4 separate regions of the Homo sapiens genome follow, and regions 1, 3 and 4 are each linked to region 2. Evidence: promoter capture Hi-C in 16 types of primary human blood cells and fetal thymus (Javierre and others, 2016). All regions are on one chromosome and are shown on one strand. The core of a region is centred on a gene start or on the middle of the fragment in contact, and the rest is flanking DNA. Distances in the headings are between cores, read along the strand shown.

Region 1 (2,769 bases), core at 56-2,555, 150 kb after region 2:
AAGATTATAATACCATATTTTTACCGTACCTTTTCTATCTATATGTTTTGTTTTGTTTTTCTCAAGACAGAGTCTTGCTCTGTCGCCATGCTGGAGTGCTATGGCGTGATCTCGGCTCACTGCAACCTCCCCCTCCCGGGTTCAAGCGATTCTCCTGCCTCAGCCTCCCAAGTAGCTGGGATTACAGGTGTGTGCCACCACGCCCAGCTAATTTTTTGTATTTTTTGGTTTTTTATTTTATTTATTTATTTATTTATTTATTTATTTATTTATTTATTTATCTGAGACAGAGTCTTGCCCTATCAGCCAGGCTGGAGTGCAATGGCACAATCTCGGCTCACTGCAACCTCTGCCTCCTGGGTTCAAGCGATTCTACTGCCTTAGCCTCCCAAGTAGCTGGGGTTACAGGCACGCATCACCATGCCCAGCTAATGTTTTGTGTCTTTAGTAGAGACAGGGTTTCACCACGTTGGTCAGGCTGATCTCCAACTTCTGACCTCAGGTGATCCACCCGCCTCAGCCTCCCAAAGTGCTGGGATTACAGGCGTGAGCCACTGCGCCCAGCCAATTACTGTATTTTTAGTAGAGACAGGATTTCTCCATGTTGGCCAGGCTGGTCTTGAACTCCTGACCTCAGGTGATCCGCCCACCTTGCCTTGGCCTCCCAAGGTGCTGAAATTGTGCTGGGATTACAGGTGTGAGCCACTGTGTACAGCCCAGAACATAATTTATTCTTTTGTTTTCTTTTTTTTTTTGAGATGGAGTCTCCCTCTGTCGCCCAGGCTGGAGTGCAGTGGCACAATCTCGGCTCACTGCAAGCTCCACCTCCTGGGTTCATGCCATTCTCCTGCCTCAGCCTCCTGAGGGACTACAGGTGCGTGCCACCACGACTGGCTGTTTTTGTATTTTGAGTAGAGATGGGGTTTCACCATGTTAGCCAGGATGGTCTCGATCTCCTGACCTCGTGATCCGCCCGCCTCAGCCTCCCAAAGTGCTAGGATTACAGACATGAGCCACCACGCCCGGCCCAATTTATTGTTTTTTTGAGACAGAGTCTCGCTCTGTCTTTCAGGCTGGAGTGCAGTGGCATGATCTCGGCTCACTGCAACCTCAGCCTCCCAGGTTCCGGCCATTCTCCTACCTCAGCCTCCAAGTAGCTGGGATTTACAGGTATGCGCCACCACGCCTGGCTAATTTTTGTATTTTTAGTAGAGACAGGGTTTCACGGCGTTGGCCAGGCTGGTCTCGAACTCTTGACATCAGGTGATCTGCCTGCCTCGGCCTCCCAGAGTGGTGGGATTAAAGGCATGAGCCACCACACCTGGCCAGAACATAGTTTATTCTTAAAGGGTTGGGGTGCATGACTTAACCCTTGCTTGGTATGACCTTATGTCCTGTTTATAATTGGCATCTTGGTCGCACGCGGTGGCTCACGTCTGTAATCCCAGCATTTTGGGAGGTTGAGGCAGGAGGATCACTAGCTCAGGAGTTTGAGACCAGCATGGCCAACATGGTGAAACCCCATCTCTACTCAAAATACAAAAATTAGCCGGGCGTGGTGTTGCCAGCCTGTAATCCCAACTACTCAGGAGGCTGAGGCAGGAGCATCTCTTGAACCTGGGAAGTGGAGGTTGCAGTGAGCCGAGATCGAGCCACTGCACTCCAGCCTGGGCAACAGAGAGAGACTGTGTCTCAAAAAAAAAAAAAAAAAAGCATCTTATTACCACAAAGCATTTGTTGTGTCAGTCTTATGATCTCTATTTTAGCATTAATGCTGGTCAATTGTTGTGTCTAAACTGTGAAAGGGATAGGGTATAACCAAGTGTGTCTGACTTCCTGTTCCATCATGGCTTCTCTGGGGTCCCCTGTACCAAAAGGGTGTCCATTTAGTCCGTTGGAAGGTTTAGGATTTTATTTTTAGTTCTCATGTGAGATCACTCAGTATCAGTGCATTTAGGACAATATAAATGTTATTAACAGTTGCATTCTATTCTTTTATAGGAATGTACCATAGTCTTTTAAAACAAATTCTCTAGCGATGAACATTTAATTTGTTTCCAGTCTTTTTTGATTATAGACAAAATAGCAATGGATATCCTTAGGTATGCACATTTTCTTTTTGTTTGTTTGTTTGTTTGTTTTGAGACTGAGTCTGGCTCTATCACCCGGGCTGGAGTTCAGTGGCATGATCTCGGCTCACTGCAACCTCTGTCTCCAGGCTTTATGCGATTCTCCTGCCTCGGCCTCCTGTGTACCTGGGATTACAGGTGCGTGCCACCACGCCCAGCTAATTTTTGTATTTTTATTTTTATTTATTTATTTATTTTTGAGATGGTGTTTCGCTCTTGTTGCCCAGGCTGGAGTGCAATGGAGCGATCTTGGCTCACTGCAACCTCCATCTCCAGGGTTCAAGCAATTCTCCTGCCCCAGCCTCCCGAGTAGCTGGGGTTACAGGCGCCTGCTGCCACGCCCAGCTAATTTTATGTATTTTTAGTAGAGATAGGGTTTCACTATGTTGGCCAGGCTGGTCACCAACTCCTGGCCTCAGGCAATCCACCCGCCTTGGCCTCCCAAAGTGCTGGGATTACAGGCATGAGCCACCGTGCCCGGCCTTATTTTTATTTTTTTATTTTTTATTTTTTTTATTTTTATTTTTTGAGATGGAGTCTGTTACCCAGGCTAGCGCAGTGGCTTTATCTTGGCTCACTGCAACCTCCACCTGCCAGGTTCAAGCAGTTCTCCTGCCTCAGCCTCCTGAGTAGCTGGGAT
Region 2 (3,012 bases), core at 123-2,622:
GGGTCTCTTTCTCTGCAGGAATCAGAAGTCCTCGACACAGAAGTCCCACTTGCTTCTGGGGGCACACATGTGCAGGCATGTACACATGCCCCCTGCCCCTTTGTATGCTGGGAGATTCTAGCACTTGGGTTCTGGAAGCTCCTGGAGGGCAGGGAGGGACCCTCTCTCCCATGGCTCACAGGGATAAGTAGGCAAAACATTGAGGCTTTGCAGCAGGAGCACCCCCAGTTAAGGCTGCAGAGGAGAAGGCTAGGTGAATGTGGGGAGAGGGGACATAGAAGGCTTCCCGGGGAGATGAAGCTGGAGGCAGGTCCCTAGCAGGGAAGAAGTCAGGAGTGTGTCAGCCTCCACCTATGCTCAAGCCAAGGGGTAATAAGAATGACCCATCTAGCTGGGATGCCAGCCCTGTGGCCCTCCAGGGGTTTGGCCCACCCAACCTCAATGCTGGGGAGCTAAGAGGGACAAGCTGTGTTCATATTGTGTGTAGCTCATCTCTGTTAGAAAAAAACAAACAAAAACCTCAGAAAGAGAACTGGCCCCAGACAGCAGGGACATTACCTTCCCAAGGCACGATCACAGGATAGAGACTCTTGTGTCTACTAGGCAAGGGCCACTCTGGAGCCCAAAAAGAATAACCTCCGCCCAAGCTTTGAGGCCCAGTGTTGACACTGACCAGCTGTGTGGCCTTAGGCAATTCACAGCCCATCCCTTGGCCTCAGTATTCCCATCTGTAAAGTGGCTCCTAAGGGACCGCACCACCGCCCAATGCCCTCTCTAAGAAACATGTCTCATCATAAATGTCTCTGGGCCAAGAAGGATGGGCAGGGGCCGAGGAAAGTACCCTTGGTGGGTGCTGCTAATTACAGAAGACGATGGGCCCACTTAGCAAGGCTGCCAGAGAGTCCCTGGACACTACCATGATCAGAAAAAGTGTTTCTGGCCTCCTGTACCTAGCTTTTCCCTGCCCCCTCCCGGGTGCCCCTTGCCTTGCTGCCCAGGAGAGCTGGTACCCTGCCAGAGCCTCTCTGCCCTTTAAGGAATAAAGCCAGGTGGGAAGTCATGGCTGGAAAGTGGATCCAGGCCAAGTGGTTCACAGAGCCCCAGAAGGCCATAGTGGGTCAGAGCCAGGATCAGAGACCAGGCGGGCAGCACAAAGGGCTCACTCAGCGGGGAAAACTGGCGGGAAGAGAATGGGACTGCTGGCACCCAGGTGGGGCCCTACCTCAGCCAGGGAGCTCCGTCCAGCTGCCAGCACGGTCCAGGGCTCCGGGACACCCTGGGGGCTCTGGGGTTGCAGCCAAGTCCTCAGGGGGCGATGTCAGCATGTCAGCATGGCCCCAGAGCCGAGCAAGGCAAGCTCCTGGGTATTGTGTGGGGCAGGGAGGGGGAGGTGAAGGAGGAGGGAACCTTGCAGAGAGAGGCAGGCGGCTGTCTCAACGTGCCTGCTCCCCGCCCCCCTTCCCCAGAACCGGTTTGGCTAGTCTGGGGTACAAGAGGGGGGCTGGAACAATGGGAGTCCTATGCCCAAGTGAGGCTCTGAAGGACCCTACACCCAGGTCCTAAAGACGGGGGAGGCAGTGCTTCTGCTCCTAGGAGACAGGTCACCACTCTTCTGGAGCTTCCCAAACATGAGCATGCTCAGGGGACTTCTTGGAGCTGGGGAGCATCCTGGGAGCTTCACAGAGAGCCTCCCAAGCCCTGCACTCCTTAGGGACCCTGAGAACCCTGATGACCCTCTCTGATCCTATTACTACATCTATCAAATTGGAACACTCATCCCTATGATTGGGAGACAGAAATCAGTCCTGAAAGTTGATGATGTGACATGTGGCATCATCCTGGACAGCCTCTCCTCATCTAGTACAGCCACTGCTTGCAAATCCCCATCCTTTCCCACGGCCTGGAATGACCTGCCCCACCATCTCCAGTGGCCGCCTCCACCATGAAGCCTTCCCAGACTATACCAATTGAGCCCTCAATAAACCAAGCCAAATAGCCAAGTCAAACTGCCTCCAATAAGAAGGGCATGCTCTATGCCCGGCATGCAATCTTCCCAACCCTGTGGAATGGGAAGCTGCATTTTCCCCTAATTCTACCTGCCATCTGTTTGAGCTACCAGCAATTGCCAGGCACCTAATATTAATATGCAGATGTGTACACAGACTAATAGTCATGAAGCTAACTTATTGTTCACCTACTAGGTGCCAGGCACTGTCCTGAGCACTTCACATGTATTTACTCATTTAATCTCCACCATGACCCTGTCAGGTAGATACTGCTACCACTTATCAGGTGAGTACAGTTGTCCCTTGGTACCCAGAATCTGTGGGGAATTGGTTCTAGAACCCTCCCATACGAAAATCCATGGCTGCTCCAGTCCCTTATACAAAATGTCATAGTGTTTGCTATAACCTTTGTACATCCTCCAGTAAATTTTATTTTATTTTATTTTATTTATTTATTTATTTATTTATTTATTTATTTATTTATTTATTTTTAAGATGGAGTCTTGCTCTGTCACCCAGGCTGGAGCAAGTGGTGGGATCTCAGCTCACCGCAACCTTTGCCTCCCAGGTTCAAGCAATTCTTCTGCCTCAGCCTCCCCAGTAGCTGGGATTACAGGCGCATGCCACCACACCCTACTAATTTTTTTTGTTTCTAGTCAAGACAGGGTTTCACCATGTTGGCCAGGCTGGTTTTTGAACTCCTGACCTTAAGTGATCCACCCGCCTCAACCTCCCGAAGTGCTGGGATTATAGACGTGAGCCACCGCACCCAGTCTATTTTATGTATTTATTGTCAAAAAATAAAATAAAATGTCCTCAAGTGAGAGGGTCTCACTCTGTCATCCAGGCTGGAGTACAGTGGTGCAATTACAGGGCTCACTTGCAGTCTCGTCGACCTCCTGGGCTCAGGTGATTCTCCCACCTAAGCCTCCTGAGTAACTGGGACCACTGGTGTGCACCCCCACACCTGACTAATTTTTGTATTTTTTGTAGAGATGGGATCTCA
Region 3 (2,865 bases), core at 343-2,842, 220 kb after region 2:
ATGGTGGCACAAGCCACGCCTATAGTTCCAGCTACTCAGGAGGCTGAGGCAGGAGGATCGCTTAAGCCTGGGAGTTCGAGGCTGCAGTGAGTCGTGATCGCACCACTGCACTCCAGTCTGGGTGAGAGAGTGAGAGCCTGTCTCAAAAATAAACAAACAAACAAACTAATAAACATATTTGATGGAAAGAGGCTGAGAGGTGTGATGGAAGCTTAGGATGCAGGCTGGGCTCTGGGGAGGGGCATGGAGGGAAGCCCTGAGTAGCTCTCAGGAGAATAAAGCTGGGCTGGAGGCTGTGAGGGGAGTTTGGAGGCCATGCAAGGCACCTAGAAGAGCGAGTAGGCAATTCTGGGTTTGCTCACCCTGCAGCTCTTTCCGTTACAGAAGCCAGCATTGTTTTTGGGAAGCTTCTCTTCTCCATTCAGCCCATGGGGCTCAGTGGAGCCACCTATCACCTCTGTCTCCATTGTATCAAGAGATCCAGACCACTCCCCACTGCCATGGTGATTGGTTCAAGGATGAGCATCTGACCACAATCTGGGCCAATGACAGTGATGCTAGAGACTTGTTTCAACTATTGCAAAGAGGCTCACTTCCTGTTGGAATGCTAAACCAGAGGGTGTAAGATGGGAAGATGTAATCCTGGAGTGGCCAGGGCAATCCCTGCCATCTTGCAGGGAGAGCTTGCCTGAGAATGAATCCAACACGGAGGAACATAGAGCCAAGAGATACTCATTTAGCACATTGATCTAGCCATACCTGAAGTCTATGAAGGCATGTGTCAGTTACCCAAACTGATATATTCTCTTTTCTGCTTAATCCAGTTTGAATTGGGTTTTGTGTCCATTTTTAACAGAGTCTTAATTAAAGCAGCTGGGGAGGAAGCCTGGGCAGGGGAAGGGAAAGGTGCCAGCTAGGAGTGAATGGATCAGAACATGGGGTGCAGGTCCCTACCTTGCTGACTCCTGGTATGATGGGCTCAACACCAGCCCTCTTTATGGTGATCCTCAGGCCAGGACTTGGCTGCGTCCCTGGAGCCTTGGTTCTACCCTCCGTGTACATCTGGGTGTTTCTATTGTCCATGATGCCAGCGCCAACACGGGTGCCAAGTGAGGGGCATCACCTAGTGTGCTCCTACAGGAGAAATCCAATCAAGCGTCCCACCAAGCCCATCACCTAACTGCTGCTTCAGGAGCCCACTTGGAGCCTATAATGTAGACAGCCTGGCTCGAGGGAAGAGGCGGGGCCAGGCCTTGCAAGGAGAGGCACGCAGCAAAACCAGAGAGCTAGCCACATGCCATTTACCCATACGCTTTTCCTAGTTCTCACTATGACCCTGAGGAAAAGGGGCTCTGGAAGGCACAAGACTTGCCCAAGATCTAACACCTGCTAGGTCGCAGACGAGGATTTGAACCATGGCCTGTTGAATCCCAAAACCCAGGCGCTTTCCCCGACGGCGACATTTCCTACAGGGTATTCTTTGGCATACTGGTCCCTTCAGATGCTCCAAGGGGTTCCAAGGCTAAATGCCTTTGGAAAGTGCTGTGATGAGCGAAATGATACAGGCTCTTTCCTGTACAACTTCTCAGAGCCTTTAAAATACTAATGTGCCTTTTAAAGAGAGTCCAAGAATGTCACAGCTGCTCCTGCTATAGATGAAAACTCCATGTTCTTAGATGGGGCTAAGGAACAAGAACTAGGGACATCTGTCCATCTGTCTCAGGGCCCCAAAGTCTCCAGCGGCAATCTGCAGTTCACCAAAGCACCCACACCCTGCCCTGGACACATCCTTTCTTTTTCTTTTTCTTTTCTTCTTCTTCTTCTTCTTTTTTTTTTTTTTTTGTTTGTTTTGAGACAGAGTCTCGCTCTGTTGCCCAGGCTGGAGTGCAGTGCTGCAATCTTGGCTCACTGCAACCTCTGCCTCCTGGGCTCAAGCAATTCTCCTGCCTCAGCCTCCCTACTAGCTGGGATTTTAGGCGGCCGCCACCATGCCCGGCTAATTTTTGTATTTTTAGTAGAGATGGGGTTTCACCAGGTTGGCCACGCTGGTCTTGAACTCCTGACCTCAAGTGATCCGCCCGCCTCGGCCTCCCAAAGTGTTGGGATTACAGGTGTGAGCCACTGCACCTGGCCATTTCTGAAGCCTTTCATCTCTCCTCCACCTCTTTCATCCAACCTCATGTTCAGCTGTGCCACCACCCCCTACACAAACTTTCTGTTTTAATCCAGGCAGGCTCCTGCAATCCTAGTCCCACAGACCCCAGCCTCTGTGCCCACCTCCCATTTTTTCTATCTTTCCGATAGCCCCCAACCCATCCTTCAAGCTCCTCCCTCTTCTCCAAGTTTCCAACCATCTCAGCTCTCTCTCCAGCCACTGAATTCCTTTGAGGCAACATCAGCACCATTTCTATGGGTACATGGACCCCCTTTCACTGTTAACTAGTTTCCAGGAGTAAATCCTAACCCCCATGCCCCTTCCTCCTGTAGTGAGACCATATGACCTTGAAGATCTTGATGGTGCTTCTTCCACTTTAAATCATGGCAGGCCCGCCAGCATCCACGGAGGAACCTTCCATGTGCTGGAAACCTTTGTAAACAGTATTCTCCTAACAGCCCTGTGAAGTCTGGGTTCAGCCCTGTTTTAAAGATAGGGAAATTAAGGCTCTGAGCAATGTTTTGTCCGATACCACATGGCCAGTCTGCAGAGGAACTGGATTCAAACCCAGGCCTGTCTGACTCCCATGGCCACTCATCTCATCATATCATTTTGCCTACAAAGAAGCTTAAGTCATTCATTCATTTCCTTGTGCAATCGATAACTGTTTAATGACACGTGCCCGTGCTAGGGACAACGTCAGGCCTTAG
Region 4 (3,048 bases), core at 229-2,728, 240 kb after region 2:
GTCTCAGATTGAATTAAATCAGCCTGCTTCAGATTCCCTATGGGTATGAAAACTTCCTCCCTTCTTTCCTCGGGGCTCACTGGCCCCTCTTATAGTCCTGCCTCAGGTACTAGCCTCTTCAGCAGGTGTGATTACCTAGGCCAGGGTTCACCTGTTCTAGGACACTCAGGGTTCAGGTAATATAAGTGGGTAAAGCAGATGGAATGGATGGGCTAGCAGCTCCAACTTATTCTCAGGTGGGCTTGGAGGCTCAGCATTAATAAAGCTTAATTTTAAGAGAGGCCAGGCAGAATACCAAACTGTGAGCTAAATTTGACCTGTAAGCTCTCTGACTTAAGCCTTTCCTTGATTATATTTTCTGTGTCTTCCCTTTAGCAAGAATGGATTCGATTTGAATCCCACAGTAAGGTTTGCCGATCTGTCTCAGCTGGTTAGAGATGCCTTGCGGGCAAAAGGCCCAGTAGTGTGGTAGAAAACCTTGGCTGGAAGGGGGCTCAGGGCTCAGCGCTCAGCCTAACCTGTGCTTTCAGGGGAGCTCTTTGCTCAGGCCCCGGTGGATCAGTTTCCTGGCACAGCTGTGGAGAGTGTGACGGATTCCAGCAGGTACTTCGTGATCCGCATCGAAGATGGAAATGGTAGGCATGGGTCCTGGTGCTTCCTCCTCTTGGGAAAGGTTTTCTCTGCCTTTGGAAGGTGGGTTGATCATGTGTTGTTCCCCAGGGCGACGGGCGTTTATTGGAATTGGCTTCGGGGACCGAGGTGATGCCTTTGACTTCAATGTTGCATTGCAGGACCATTTCAAGTGAGTGGGTCTGGGAGACACACGCTCATGCCCCTCCCTTCTTTCCCTGGACAGAATGATCTCCCAGGTTAGGATACCCAAGTGTTTGTGTGTGATTTGTCTGGCAGCAGAGACTCAGGAGAACCCAGGACAAGCCACCTCTCTTCTCTGCCAATGTTCATCTCTGCTGTAAAGCCTTCTCTTTTACCTGAGGCTCATCTCTACCATCCCAGCCTTCGGGCCTGCCACCTGTCTCCCCTTACCAGTCCCCTGAGCAGCCAGAGTCCTCATCAGGCTCCTGTGGCCTTTCTGGGCCTGCTCCTCCATGTAATCAATGGCGCTTGGATTCCCAGGGCACCCAGCAGATGCCCTGATGTCCTTTTCTGAAGCTAAGAGACAGGGCAGGAAGTCCTCCTCCACCATCTGCAGGGCTCGAACTCAGGCTGCCAGTGAGTGGGCTGTGCCCGGCCACTCACATGGGCGCCTCTGGCTCTTCCCTTACCGGTGCTGCTGGGTGGTGTGGTATGGAGGGTGGGGGACTTTTGTGTTGCCCTCTACTTTTGGGTATCTGTCTTGTCCCCCCGTCTGCCTTCTGAGTGTTTGAGGGTGTGTAGAGACCGCATCTTAGTTCTCATGTCATATACTGTAGAGGGAAGGGCAGGCTCTCACGTGTCCTAGAGATAGTGTTAGGACCCTCTACGTAAGTGATCTCGCTGCATTCGTAGCCATCTTGAAAACCTATAGAATTGTGGGCATATTTTGCTGATGAGGAAACCAATGTGCATGCCGCTACTTAAGTGTCAGATTGGGATTTGAATTCAGGCCTCACTCCCAAGCCTGCACTCTTTCCAGCACCCCGTCTCACTACGAGGCTCAGCCTGGACTGATAGCAGGCAGTAGTGAAGTGAGCCAGTGATTGCAGGGCAGCTGGTCTCTTCCTTCCTCACCTTTTTCCTCATGTTCTCTCCCCAGGTGGGTGAAACAGCAGTGTGAATTTGCAAAACAAGCCCAGAACCCAGACCAAGGCCCTAAACTGGACCTGGGCTTCAAGGAGGGCCAGACCATCAAGCTCAACATCGCAGTGAGTTCTACCCTTGCTTGGCTGTGGTGACGTGATACTTGTGGCCACCCAGCCCCAGAGCCCATTGCTCTTCTTACAGTTCAGCTCCTTCAGTTCAGCAGATGTTTAGTGAGCATCTGCCTTGTGCCAGGTCCTGCATCGGGGTGAACAAGAGACCTCTGTTCTCATGGAGCTCAGAGTTGAGCTGAGACAGGCAGGTAAAAATGTGATAACAACATGGCAGGAAAGGTTCCATGACTAAGGGATGCCCTGGGTGCCGTGGGCTCCTAGAGGAAGGGTGTGCAGCCCATAGTTGTGGGAACCAAGGAAGGCTTCCTGGAAGAAGGGACCTGTAGGCAAGGGAAGAGTGATCAAAGAGTGGTTCACACAGAGGAACAGCAGGTGCAAAGCCTCTGAACTGAGAAGGAGCATCAGTCATTTGCTGCCAGAGGTGGTGTTTCTGTCCTAGCTATTAGAGTGCATCAGGAGGGACCTGTGTGCTCATCCCAGGCTGTGTCTTGAATAAGGAAGATTTGGGAGAGTTCTGGCAGGAGGGCGTTGAGGTGGGCGCTGGGAGTCCTGGGCAGCTTGTGCTGATGGTGTTGTCCTGGCTCCTGTGTCTTCGTTCTGAGCTGCTCTGCCTCTGGCTTCCCTCCCGTCAGCTCCTGTTCATAGGAACAGGTTGGGCTGGGCTGGGCTGGGCTGGGTTGCCTAAAGTTGGCCTTTACCTGGCTGCAAGGGTGGAGAGGGGAGATGAGGTCAGAGTCATGATTGCGGGGACCCAAGGACCAAGTGGATTGGTTTTTGTTTTTGCTAGGAATACTGTGTTGAGATGGATTTGTTTTTTCAAGAAGCTTTGTAACTCTAAAATAATGCTTTTCCTCTTTACTTACTCTTTCTCCTCTTTTCTGCTTCGTGCTGGTGATGATTTGGGATCCTTGAAGTTGGCCAGCTGGCCCTTAAGAGAGAAATGCAAGTCCAATCCAGTGGACTGGTTGGGATGTGATTCTTTCTCTCGCTTGGAGGAAACTAACATTTAATGAGCATCAGCTGAGGGCCAGGTAGTGGTTTTTTTTTGTTTTGTTTTGTTTTTTGTTTTGTTTTGTTGTTTTTTTTTTTTAGGCATTTCTCATGTGAATTAAACATCCTCTCCCTTTCCTCCATGAGATGAGGAAATGGAGGCTTAGGGAGGGTTGGGGACTTGCCC

The links. The method cuts DNA at HindIII sites, captures the fragments that hold promoters and counts their contacts. A CHiCAGO score of 5 or more calls a contact.
Region 1: a contact is called between a fragment that was not itself captured here and the fragment with the promoter of ARHGEF19 in region 2, in 9 of 17 cell types (endothelial precursors, megakaryocytes, M2 macrophages and 6 more). The highest score is 13.1, in endothelial precursors.
Region 3: a fragment that was not itself captured here is called in contact with the fragment with the promoter of ARHGEF19 in region 2 in 1 of 17 cell types (endothelial precursors); the score reaches 7.0 in endothelial precursors.
Region 4: a contact is called between a fragment that was not itself captured here and the fragment with the promoter of ARHGEF19 in region 2, in 2 of 17 cell types (endothelial precursors and erythroblasts). The highest score is 6.6, in endothelial precursors.

The regions. Positions count from the first base shown.
Region 1 is chr1:16,358,358-16,361,126 of GRCh38, forward strand. No RefSeq gene overlaps it. Among named protein-coding and RNA genes, the nearest start is that of FBXO42, 7.3 kb to the left of the region's middle. RefSeq lists a silencer at 2,106-2,322. The HindIII fragment of the contact is 7,817 bases long and covers 1-2,769 here.
Region 2 is chr1:16,211,280-16,214,291 of GRCh38, forward strand. It overlaps ARHGEF19 (Rho guanine nucleotide exchange factor 19), which reads right to left and starts at 1,373. Exons shown (of 16, transcript NM_153213.5): 1 at 1,223-1,373. RefSeq lists an enhancer at 1,177-1,875. The HindIII fragment of the contact is 4,473 bases long and covers 646-3,012 here.
Region 3 is chr1:16,430,289-16,433,153 of GRCh38, forward strand. It overlaps SPATA21 (spermatogenesis associated 21), which reads right to left. Exons shown (of 13, transcript NM_198546.1): 2 at 2,502-2,636; 3 at 1,050-1,134. The coding sequence starts at 1,083. Among named protein-coding and RNA genes, the nearest start is that of SPATA21, 5.7 kb to the right of the region's middle. The HindIII fragment of the contact is 2,375 bases long and covers 406-2,780 here.
Region 4 is chr1:16,447,340-16,450,387 of GRCh38, forward strand. It overlaps NECAP2 (NECAP endocytosis associated 2), which reads left to right. Exons shown (of 8, transcript NM_018090.5): 3 at 531-635; 4 at 721-802; 5 at 1,754-1,862. Among named protein-coding and RNA genes, the nearest start is that of NECAP2, 8.1 kb to the left of the region's middle. The HindIII fragment of the contact is 2,430 bases long and covers 264-2,693 here.